Regions from separate parts of the Homo sapiens genome. Here regions 1 and 3 are each linked to region 2. Evidence: promoter capture Hi-C in 16 types of primary human blood cells and fetal thymus (Javierre and others, 2016). All regions are on one chromosome and are shown on one strand. Each heading gives the region's core, a stretch centred on a gene start or on the middle of the fragment in contact. The rest is flanking DNA. Distances are from core to core; before and after follow the strand shown. Region 1 overlaps LOC124906112 (a long non-coding RNA gene). Region 2 holds the start of SPATS2L (spermatogenesis associated serine rich 2 like). Region 3 overlaps SPATS2L (spermatogenesis associated serine rich 2 like).

Evidence for each region. The method cuts DNA at HindIII sites, captures the fragments that hold promoters and counts their contacts. A CHiCAGO score of 5 or more calls a contact.
Region 1: a fragment that was not itself captured here is called in contact with the fragment with the promoter of SPATS2L in region 2 in 1 of 17 cell types (erythroblasts); the score reaches 6.5 in erythroblasts.
Region 3: a fragment that was not itself captured here is called in contact with the fragment with the promoter of SPATS2L in region 2 in 5 of 17 cell types (endothelial precursors, M1 macrophages, total CD8 T cells and 2 more); the score reaches 8.2 in endothelial precursors.

What each region holds. Positions count from the first base shown.
Region 1 is chr2:200,051,565-200,055,041 of GRCh38, forward strand. The region is part of intron 1 of LOC124906112 (a long non-coding RNA gene); the gene reads right to left. Among named protein-coding and RNA genes, the nearest start is that of MAIP1, 98 kb to the left of the region's middle. RefSeq lists an enhancer at 3,082-3,477. The HindIII fragment of the contact is 452 bases long and covers 1,231-1,682 here.
Region 2 is chr2:200,304,539-200,307,975 of GRCh38, forward strand. SPATS2L (spermatogenesis associated serine rich 2 like) reads left to right here and starts at 2,155. Exons shown (of 13, transcript NM_001100423.2): 1 at 2,155-2,384. RefSeq lists an enhancer at 1,530-1,629 and silencers at 2,040-2,769, 2,790-3,119. The HindIII fragment of the contact is 4,184 bases long and covers 379-3,437 here.
Region 3 is chr2:200,438,350-200,442,032 of GRCh38, forward strand. It overlaps SPATS2L (spermatogenesis associated serine rich 2 like), which reads left to right. Exons shown (of 13, transcript NM_001100423.2): 7 at 773-979; 8 at 2,300-2,435. The region is part of intron 3 of LOC101927741 (a long non-coding RNA gene); the gene reads right to left. Among named protein-coding and RNA genes, the nearest start is that of KCTD18, 70 kb to the right of the region's middle. The HindIII fragment of the contact is 2,905 bases long and covers 1-2,852 here.

The sequences.
Region 1 (3,477 bases), core at 207-2,706, 250 kb before region 2:
CCCATGATGATTTCTCCTCACCTACCAGTCCTCCCTATTTGAGAGTTTTTAAAACTTTGCAAAAAGTGAAAATGCTTTGTGGTTAACTGTGAGGGTAAATCAATTAGTTCTGGATCAGAGTAAAAAGACAATTATCTCGTTGGTTTTCTGTGTAGCAAACACTTCATAGTCAGAGACCTTGTCTGTCTTGTTGATGACTGAATCACTGCCTCCTAAGATGGCAGCTGGCACATTGCAGGCATTTAATAAATATTTGCTGAATGAATGGATGACTGAATGACAATTATTTGGCTAAACTCGAGACATTGACTATAAAGCACTAAACATGATCACTTATATTCTTTATCATGATCATGTGTGAAGAGGAGAGGCTAACATAAATGTTTTTCAAAGCTTTGGAGTGATAAAATGATAGTTCATTATCCAAGCAAAACAGATCCATCTATATAGGAATATCATATCCAAATTTGGCAAAGCCAAACTGCATGATAAAGTCCAATAATCCATATGTGAACCCATCTTTGTGGTTCTTCTAAAGTAACCAAAGGATTTTTGCATTGTTACATTGCTCTGCTATTCCATAAAATCAAAGTGGGAAGGCAGGGGCACATGGCCTCAAGAATCCTTTGTTTTCTGCAGCTGAGGTAAGGATTATTATCACGTCTGCTGGTTTCCAGTTAGACTTTACATGTTCAGGGTTGTACTCTTTTCACTATGACTTCAAAATCCAATGATAAAGAATTGAGTAGCATTTGATTCTGTGCTGGTTAACATAGGTCTTCCCAACTATAAAGAGGTTTCAGATAAAGACGTCAAAGTAAGAACTCATCTCTACAAAGGCAATTTGGAAGAGAAGGTGACATGCTTGACCCTTCCCACATTTTATTATAGTCTTACCACATTTTAATTTTCCTCCCCATCCTTTACTTGTTTCCATTATTATCTCTTTTTCAGCTTTTCTTTCCCTGGCCTTCTTTTCTCCTCTCAGTTTCCTTCTTTCTTTTTTAAAATATATTTTTTAAAAGAACTTGTATTTGCTTTATCTGTGTAATTTTCAGTCAGCGGTGTTTATTTATTGTTTTCTACCTACAAAGACCTTAAAAAATTATTGCCCTTCCTGAATACCATGTTCAAAGAGATTTTTGTCTATTAAGTTTCACTTAAGTAAACATTCATGACTTCCTCCTGCCCCTTTAAAAATTCATCAAAGTTTATATAACTGCCTATCAAAGCTTCTGATTAGTATGACGTAGTCAATGTCAATGTTGAAAATCTATCTACATAAAGGCACTTGAACGTTGGTCTTTTAGGTAACTTTAAGCCTGTATCTTGGTGATCTTGCTGACTAGTAACCAGGCAATGACAAACTCTTCCTAGTTGGATCTACTTTTAACTCAGAAAGAATGAACAAAAAGAAAAGGAGGAGGTCATAGCTTAAAAAACAAGACAGTCATGACTGAGTTGTTAAAAAATAAAACCTAGATTTATATTACTATGCTTAAATCATTTAACATAATAACTTCATTTTATTGCAAATATGATGCTACCCAGTGACCTTATATCCTTTAATGACGACAAAGGGATGATAGTGTTTTCCCTCAGGGAACTAGAAAAAAAAAACAACCAAACAAAAAATGCACTTAAAAGTTTGTCCTATAGAGACCCTATTAGAGACTTTTAGAAGCTTGTAGACATTGAATTAGAAAAGATCTGGAAATTGTAAATTGTCTTTCCTTCGTACTGTCTTTTTAAGCTGATGTATTGCAATGTGTACTATTGTTTCATAATCATTAGAGGACTTTTCTGAATTAAGTTGCCAGAGCCAGAATGTATTTCTGGGCAATTAAAAACATTGTCTTTCACATTTTGCTGGCTACATCACTGAGAGGCTAAGTGACCTTATAAACACCTTACATTTTCCACCAAATTTAGCACATTAATAGGAGAAAATTCCGACTTATCTTGCACAAATATAGGGGAAATTTAGTGCATGAAGCAATTCCAAACAGAATTATATTAATTGAATAGTATGTTATTCTAGTTTACTTGAGTACAAAGGGTAGCAGGAAGCGAGGGACGGAATATAACCCAACTAATTCTGTTAGTACAGAGTATTAGTTTGACTCAGTTACTCTCAGTAATGAGGATTCATGATAAGGATACATGATAAGGAATATGATCTTTTTTAGCAAGCCATAATACTCCTTGTTCTAGACCTTCCAAAATGGAAAAATATACCACATAATGCTGCCTGGCATTATGAGACCTAACTTCACTTCATAATTAGTATTTATAGTCCCCAAAGAAAAGACTTGATAGGGATCCCTTACCTTGTCTCACGTAGAACCACCCTTTGGACAAACTTCCCAGGTCAGGCTGTTTGAGAGGTGGTTGTTCTCTCTCAGTGGAGCTGATGAGTGTATGCTTTTGGTTTATCCACTAATTTTTGGTTGCATTGTTGTGGTCTGAATGGCAGGGCTGGTTTCACCCAACATATAAACACTAGATACGTGAGCTTAATGCTGGAAAATATCTCTTGAATCTGCATTCTTTTTCCCTACCAAGAAAGAGTGACAACCGGAGATCATCTAGAAACTTTATGGCTTATCCCATAAATGTGTGGGCTGAAATAAGGTTAGATACTTTTCCTAAATTATCTGGTTCAGTCAGTCAAAGTTGTTGGTACTTAACCTCCAAAATAGAGATAACTGTGGCTTAATAGACTGTCTCAGTAGGAGAAAAGTTCTACATTTTATTTTCAAAATGATTATCAATAGACTTACCTGTCATGTTTGAATTGTAAATGCAGATTAAAATAAGGCTCACTTTATGGGAGCACCACTCTCATGGAGAGAAGGAGTGGCAAGGGAACATCACTCTCTCCAACTGGACCATCCAGGTGGACACTGGGATTCATAAAGGAAACAACTCAACCCATAGAGAATGGAGAGGAGCAAGAGAGGACAACCGCCCACCTGGGAGTGGCACAGAGCCTCCACTGCACTGACACAGAGAGCTCCGTGGAGTTTGGGCAGAGCCACTTGCTCAGACCATTGCAGAGTTCTGGGAGCCTTGAATCCCCAAGCATCCTGGCACCAGTGACTGCATCTCTAGCAATGGGGGAGGCCAGGCTGCCTTGCATGCCCCCAGGACAGGGATCGAATCCCATGGGGCTGAGCAGCAGATGGTCTGCGGGCCTCATCTGTGCTGCACCTTGCTTGGTGGGGCCCACTGGCCTAGGAACCTAGTGCAGCCACCCCAGCCCCGCCTGGGCTGTCGGGCCAGGAGTAGCTCTGCACTTCCCTGGCATGGAGCTCCTGGAGGGAGCAGGCAGGCCGCCATTTTTGCTGCTTTGCAGCCCTCATTCCTGTTGCCCTTGGGCCAGGGAGGGAGCACAGTGATTAGGGACAACGTGGACCCCCAGAAGAGGGCAGCAGACTTGCAGGAAAGCGGCCAGACTATTTTCCAGGTGGGTTC
Region 2 (3,437 bases), core at 905-3,404:
AAAGGCGGTATATGGTCTTCTTAAAACCCTTTCTTCCCTCTGGTCATATTCTGTTCTTGAAGGCATTTTTTTCTGTCGGACTTCACTAAGCAAGTTAGATTTGGAGTCATGGGAAGATTATGAAGTGGTGGAAGAAAAGAATGAAGACTGAGTTCAATGTTATTTCCAAAGCCCTTCCTAGGAAAAGTGTTGTTTATTATTCATTTTGGAATTCTAATTATGGAGGAAACCTCCCAAAAACATAAATAAATTATTTAGCCAGAGGACCTAAGAAGTGCATCAAATTTCAAGTCAAATGGCTACAAGTTACTTATTACACCTAAATTTAATAAGCAATAGGATGTTTGTTCTTTATGTGTGGTATGGCTTCTAGAAGCAAGCTTTCCTCTCTGTAGCACAGGCAGGGTCCAACGGTCTAGGTTCAAATTCTTCCTTTACCACTTACTAGCTAAAAACTTAGGCAACTTATTTCACCTCTCTGTGCCTCAGTTTCTTTCTTTCTTTTCTTTTAAAGGCTCTGGCTCTGTTGCCCACACTAGAGCGCAGGGGTGTGATCCTGGCTCACTGCAACCTTAGCCTACCTGGTTCAGGTAATCCTCCCACCTCAGCCTCCTGAGTAGCTGGGACTACAGGCGTGCACCACCATGCCCGGCCAATTATTATTATTAGTTTTTTTGTTTTGGAGGGATGGAGTTTCACTATGTTGCCCAGGCTGGTCTTGATCTCCAGGGCTCAAGAGATTTGCCCACCTCGGTCTCCGAAAGTGTTGGGATTACAGGTGTGAGCCACTGGGCCCAGCCCTCAGTTTATCTGTAAAACAGGACAAAAGTAGTACCTACCTGATGGGGTTCTTCCAAGGATTAAATGAGCTAGTACTTATAAAGCACTTGCTAATGTCTGTTAAATAAATTATATTATCCACACACCAATCCAAGGCGACTATAAGGTAGCAAGAACCACTCCAAGTCACATAAGAAAATGAATTCCTTTCGTTTTAGCTCCTCTCTTTATTTCAGCAGTGCGTTGTCAACAGGGCCACATTATGTTAGCAGATTTGAACTTTATCCGAAAGGTGTTTGTATTTTATTTCAAATTATGAATTCCTGAACATCGGATTATGTACGATTCTGCAGTGCCCTCGGAGGCCCATTAGAGTCTGGAGCTCGAGAAGCATAACAAACTCTGGTCTGATATTTGTAAGGAGCTTGACAGCCAAGGAGCCACTCAGAAACAGTTATTGGTATTGCCAAAAAAAAAAAAAAAAAAGGAAGCTAAGAAGTCACCCTTCTAAATAAATAAATAAATAAATAAATAAATAAAAACCTGAATTGGAGAGCTGCCTGCATTTCACTCTACTGCCTCTGGAAGAAGAGTGTTATCTAAAGTGCTTCCATCATGAATAATGATTGAGAAACTGCTTTTACTCTCCCGACTACTGTACTCCCAGGCAGAAACCCACGGCTGAAGCCCACGATGCCCATGTGTAACTTGGTTATTACACACACGTTTGGAGCCCAGTGTGCAGACCCGCAGCGCAGAGGAGGCGGCGGAACACCCCGGGTTGGTCGGGTTTCCAAGGGCTGACCCGAGCTCCAGCACTTTTTCCGCGCCTGATTTTTCAGGTCATTTTCGAATGGGCTATCTTTGCTTACATTTTGAGCTTGGATCCTCTCCAGAAAGCATTACTACCTTCTAAAAGGAAAAACATCTCGTATTTGCAGACAGTGCTGAGGGAGCAAAGTTCATTTTCTCGGGTAGGAGAAGATGATTCTCTTGCAACACGTGCGGATTGTGACAAAATCTTTCATTAACAAGGGGAGTTTCGGTGAAGTGGAGGTTTGGGGAAAGGCGAGGAAGTCGGTCTGGAGCAAGCAAGCAAAGTGCGGAAGCTGTACTGGGATTCTTCTAGAAAGTGGGGTGGGAAAGGAGCTAGGGAGGGCGTGTGGAGGGACGAGATCTGTGTCAGAACGTGCGTGTGAGCGGATACAAAACCCGAGAGAGGCGTGAGCAGCGCTGTGTTTGCGAGCGGGAGCGAGGGGCGCCGGCTGGGGTGTGTGCTCCTGGTGAGTGACACCGAGGGGAAGGCGGGCGGGTCGGCGGGCGGGGGCAGCCTGCGAGGGGCGGGAGTGTCCCTGCGTGGGGCGGCCGAGCCGGAGTTGTGTCAGTGAAGGAATCCAGTCCGGGGGCCGAGCTGGCTGCGCCCTCCGCTGCAAGCGCCGGCAGCGCGGGGCGAGCTCCGGACGGCGCGCGGCCCAGGCAGCGGCTCCCGCTCGGCCCGCCCTCCGAGCCGCAGGGGCCGCCACCGCCGCGGCGCCTCCCCTGGCGACCGCGCCCCCGGGCCCCGGCTCCGGCCCGGGACGGAGGAGCCGGCGCTCGACACAGAGGTAAGCCCAGGACCCCCTCCACGCCGGGCCGGCTGGGGATGCAGGGCGCGGGCGGACGCGGAGGGGCCTGCGCGGCCGGGACGGAGACTCGGCTGGGCCGAGCATTCCGCAGCCCGGGCCGCCCAGCCTCCGCCGCCTCCCGGAGCGCTGGGTGTGGCCCGCGCTCGGCGCCGAGGCGGGCTGGTGGCGCGGACCGGACGCGAAGGTCGCCGTCCTTCCTTTCTCCAGCCGGCGCGGGCAAGCGGGAGGAGGCGCCGGCTGGGACGCACAGTGGCGCTCCCCGGGCGAGCGTGTGGCCGCCGCGCTCCGACGTGTACCCGCCCGCCCCGGATCTGAATCGCCCGCGGCCGCCGTCCCTCGCCTGCCGTCCTCCCGCGCGGGCGCCCCCGTTCCCTCCCAAGCCGGAAAGAGACCCACCGTCCCCCAGGCTGCTCTCTGGCCCGGAGCCGCAAAGCCCACGTCAGCCGCGACCACCCCGCCCTCGGATCCCAGCCGGGTGCGGGGGCCGCGGCCCCACTGAACCCCGCGCCCCTGGCGCCCAGCGGGAGTGGGATGCGTTGGCGTCCGCGCTGCGCGGGTGGGCTGGGGTGGCCGGAGCAGACGCGGAGCGCCCTGGCCGCGGGACGAAGCGGTCGCGCCGCCGCATTTGGGCGGGGGGACCCCGGAGTCCGCGGGCTGCGGACCCCAGCGGGAGACGGGGTTGTCGTAGGATGCGCTCGCGCTGGACGCCGGCGCACTCTGAATATCATGCTGCCGCACACGCGGGGCTGAAGGGCCGAGTCTTCACCTGCGCGGGGATGCGGCGGAAGCGTCGCGTCTTCGCGAGTGGAGGTTTCGTGTTCCCGCGGGGTTGGTGTGTTTTTGAACTTCACGAGCTTCTCATCCCCCCCGCAATCCTGGTTTTAGCAGATGTCGGGGTTTTGGAGACCTGACACTTTTCGTGAAAGATTCTTTCTGTACGTTTTCTTTTGGCTATATTACAGGGTTTGTAGCTTGAGAACTAGTGAAAACCCTTGAACTTCAAACACAGTCTCATTGCTTATTTTTTGAAAT
Region 3 (3,683 bases), core at 150-2,649, 130 kb after region 2:
ACCCAAAACTTTCTCTGGTAGTAAGATGTTAAGAGTGATACATTTCCGTTTCAGGCCACTAACATGCTATTTAATTCATTCCAGCAATAACTAAATGGGAACCTACCTTTAAAAGATGCCAAAAGCAACATCCTGCTAATTGATTGCCACATCTATTAAATCTCCAGAGAGAATCTGACTCCCTAGATTTTAAATATAGTTGAGATATTATGATGATGTTTTCTGATTTAAGCCCTCCATAAATTAGATGCAATGATTATAGTATCTGTTGTCACTTCATTTTTGCTCTATCTCCAGTCACGCTTCTGCCTTCATTAATTCGGAATGAAATATCACAAGACATTAATGTAGCACTTGGAGATAGGAGGGCTACATTTTTATAGCCTCAATATGAAATTGTACTTAAAAGACTCATAAGCCTTTACTGGAATAGCAGGGGGGAAAAGGCACTGCTCATCTTCTATAAGCCTCTTAATAACCTTCCTGGATAGTTATGGATGAGGAAACTAGGGCTCAGAGATGCCCAGGGTCACTCTGCAAGTAATTACCAGAGCCAAAACATGCCCAGGTCTTTCTACTCAAAATACAAGGCTCTTCTAGTACACCCTCTAATCTTCTGGGGATTCTTTTAAAACAGTTTCTTGACTGTTTGCAATGAAAGGCATTATTGCCAATATGTAAACAAAAACAAAAATCTTGGCATCCTCCATCACTTTATCGTCAGTGTTTTTAGTTTATCACTTCACAGTCATTATTTGGTGTTTTCTTACAGAAGGCAACAGACTACTGCAACAGAAACTATCCTTAGATGGGAACCCCAAACCTATACATGGAACAACAGAGAGGTCAGATGGCCTACAGTGGTCAGCTGAGCAGCCTTGTAACCCAAGCAAGCCTAAGGCAAAAACATCTCCTGTTAAGTCCAATACCCCTGCAGCTCATCTTGAAATAAAGCCAGATGAGTTGGCAAAGAAAAGAGGTAAAGTGATTTCTTTTGCACAAATGATTCAACATATTTTGCACATACAGAAAAGTGCCAGAGTGACAGAACTTTCCAAAAGATGCTGCTTAGTGAAGAGAGATGCACATGAAATTGCATTTTTTTTTCTGTGACCCACATAGATGGAAAGGCAGAGGTGATTCCTCCCATGTAATCAAAGGTCTTGAATATTTAAATAGAATTACATCTCCTTTCTCTGCCCCTCTGAGACCATTCTTGTTGTAGGCATGGATAAACTTACACCACAAGTACCTTCTATCCTAATATCTTATAAAGCAAGTGCTCATTCAGGAGCTCTTTTAAAAATGTAACTGCTAAAAGGGACTCATGTTTCCCTGATACACAATTGCTTGACTTGCATTGAACAAAGATGAGTCTGGAGGCTGGTATATGTTCTTCAGATATGGTCTTCCCAATGTAAATTCAGTTCTGTGTTAGAATTTACACACAATGTAACATTGAAAGAGGGTTTTATATTTGACACGCTGGATTTTTATGATTTTTCTGAGCTTGGATATACTTGATACGTAACTGGTATTAAAAATGAAAATCACTTCCTTTCTGATTCCCAGAAGATTAAATACTATTCTTTTCATTCAGCCTCAGTTGTATCTGATTTCCTTGGCTTTGGTTTGATCTACTTTCTCATTTTTCTTGAGGGGGATTTCTTTCTTCTACCAAACATGGCCTGATTGTGATAAGTACAATCTGCCTGTTTGTGATGTACTATCTGTAGACCCTGGTGACAGTTGCAGGAAATCAGGCGAGATGGGCACCCATAGAGCTGCTTTCAATGCTGCTGCTCTAATTACAGGCCTGGCTTCGGATGATGGGGCCAGTGCCAGCGTACCTGGCATTGATGCCCCATCCTCTCTCTATCTCATTTGTACCTCTCCCAGTCTCTGTGTCATTTTCCTCTTCCAAAAGCCCTGCTGGCTTTTAACCACGCAAAGTGGTGTTTATAGAGAGAGCCAGCAGCACAAATGGTCTTTAGACGTATCAGATTCTAAGGCACTGCAGTTTGTGATAGAATATAATGATGACAGCCTCCTTCCAAAGAGTGCAGGAGACAAGCGTACCCCAGATGGCCCAGTCAGAGACCCCACTGGTGAAATCATAACAGCCTCAGGTGCCACACAAGCCACCCACACTGGGTTACAAACATTCTCCTGATGGAACTTTTACTAGACAAAAGATGAGTCCCTTTTTCTGGTGGGCTAATTGCTTTGTTTTGTTGTTTAGCTTACAAACAAAGGATTAAATGCTCAAGTTAATAATATTTTTTGACATCAATTTTAGGCCCAAATATTGAGAAATCAGTGAAGGATTTGCAACGCTGCACCGTTTCTCTAACTAGATATCGCGTCATGATTAAGGAAGAAGTGGATAGTTCCGTGAAGAAGATCAAAGCTGCCTTTGCTGAATTACACAACTGGTGAGTGATTCAACGTAGGAACCATAAATTTGTGATGCTTGAGCTGTTCCAACAGGTAAAAGTATCAGATGGAAAACGTTGTTTATTTAATACATAAACATCACAGAATAACTCTCCAGCAAATTTTGTTAAGCCCTGCAGGCAGTAGCATGTATCTTGGGAATAAAAAAGAAGATAAAGTATTTGAATAAAAAGAAACCTGATAGACATAATTCACTGGAGTTTGAAGTTGGCCCAAAACTATGAATGATGTAAAACAAAACCTCAACAAAGAATAAAACCTCAAAAAATAGTATTTTTGACAAATCCCTGGAAGGCTAATATCATGAATACTACTAGGAAAACAAAATATTTTCCAGCACTATAATTATAAAATAAGAAGAATTCCCTTAACGAAATTCAGAAACATCTCACATAAGCTTAGCAACAGAGTCCCATTCTTGGGTATCTTTAAGACTAGAATTTAAACATGGTGCATCAATATGGTTTTGGTCCTGCCTTGCCCTTCCCTGCTACTGATTTTGATGGAAAATGTTTGAACCCTGTATATTTGCTCATGTCTACAATTGAAATGATATATCTGTTAATAAAGGTTTAGTTATTAACAGTAGAAAAATGTTCTCAGCGTATCAGTTAGGTCTCTTTCAGTTTGGAGTGGCAGAAATCAAGTCACAGAAGTTAAAGACAAAAGAGAATTTATTGGCTGATATACATGAAAATTACAGAAGTTTCCTTCAGACAAATTTGACTGTAAATCCTCATTATGTTATCAGGACTCAGTCTGTCTCACCCTCTCTCCTTCCTCTCTCCTGGTGTCTCCCACAGTCTCCTAGCTCTGTCCATTCTTGGCTTTTTTCTTAGGCACCATCTCTCTTTGTGGTAGCAAAGATGACCCCCTCACAGCTGCCAGATTACATAATCCTTAGCCCTCTGATGATCTGAGAGAGGGCTTCATCTGAAATAGCAAAAGTCCAAAGGCTGGCACATATCCACCATGCCCAAGCTCATTAACATATTCTCTATATCTCATTGGCCTCCCGTGATTCTAGAATTTGATCACTTCTTCTGCATGCTTTTCCTATTCCAGGTCCTTGCTTTGACATTGATGTGCTTTTTAGCAGAAACTGTGTGTAAAACTAAGAATTAAGCTTAACACTAATCTAAAATGCATGAATTTTAAACCATCTGCTATGTATCATATAAGATCCTAAGGGTGCAGAAGACACTAGGAACTTAAAAGAAAACTTT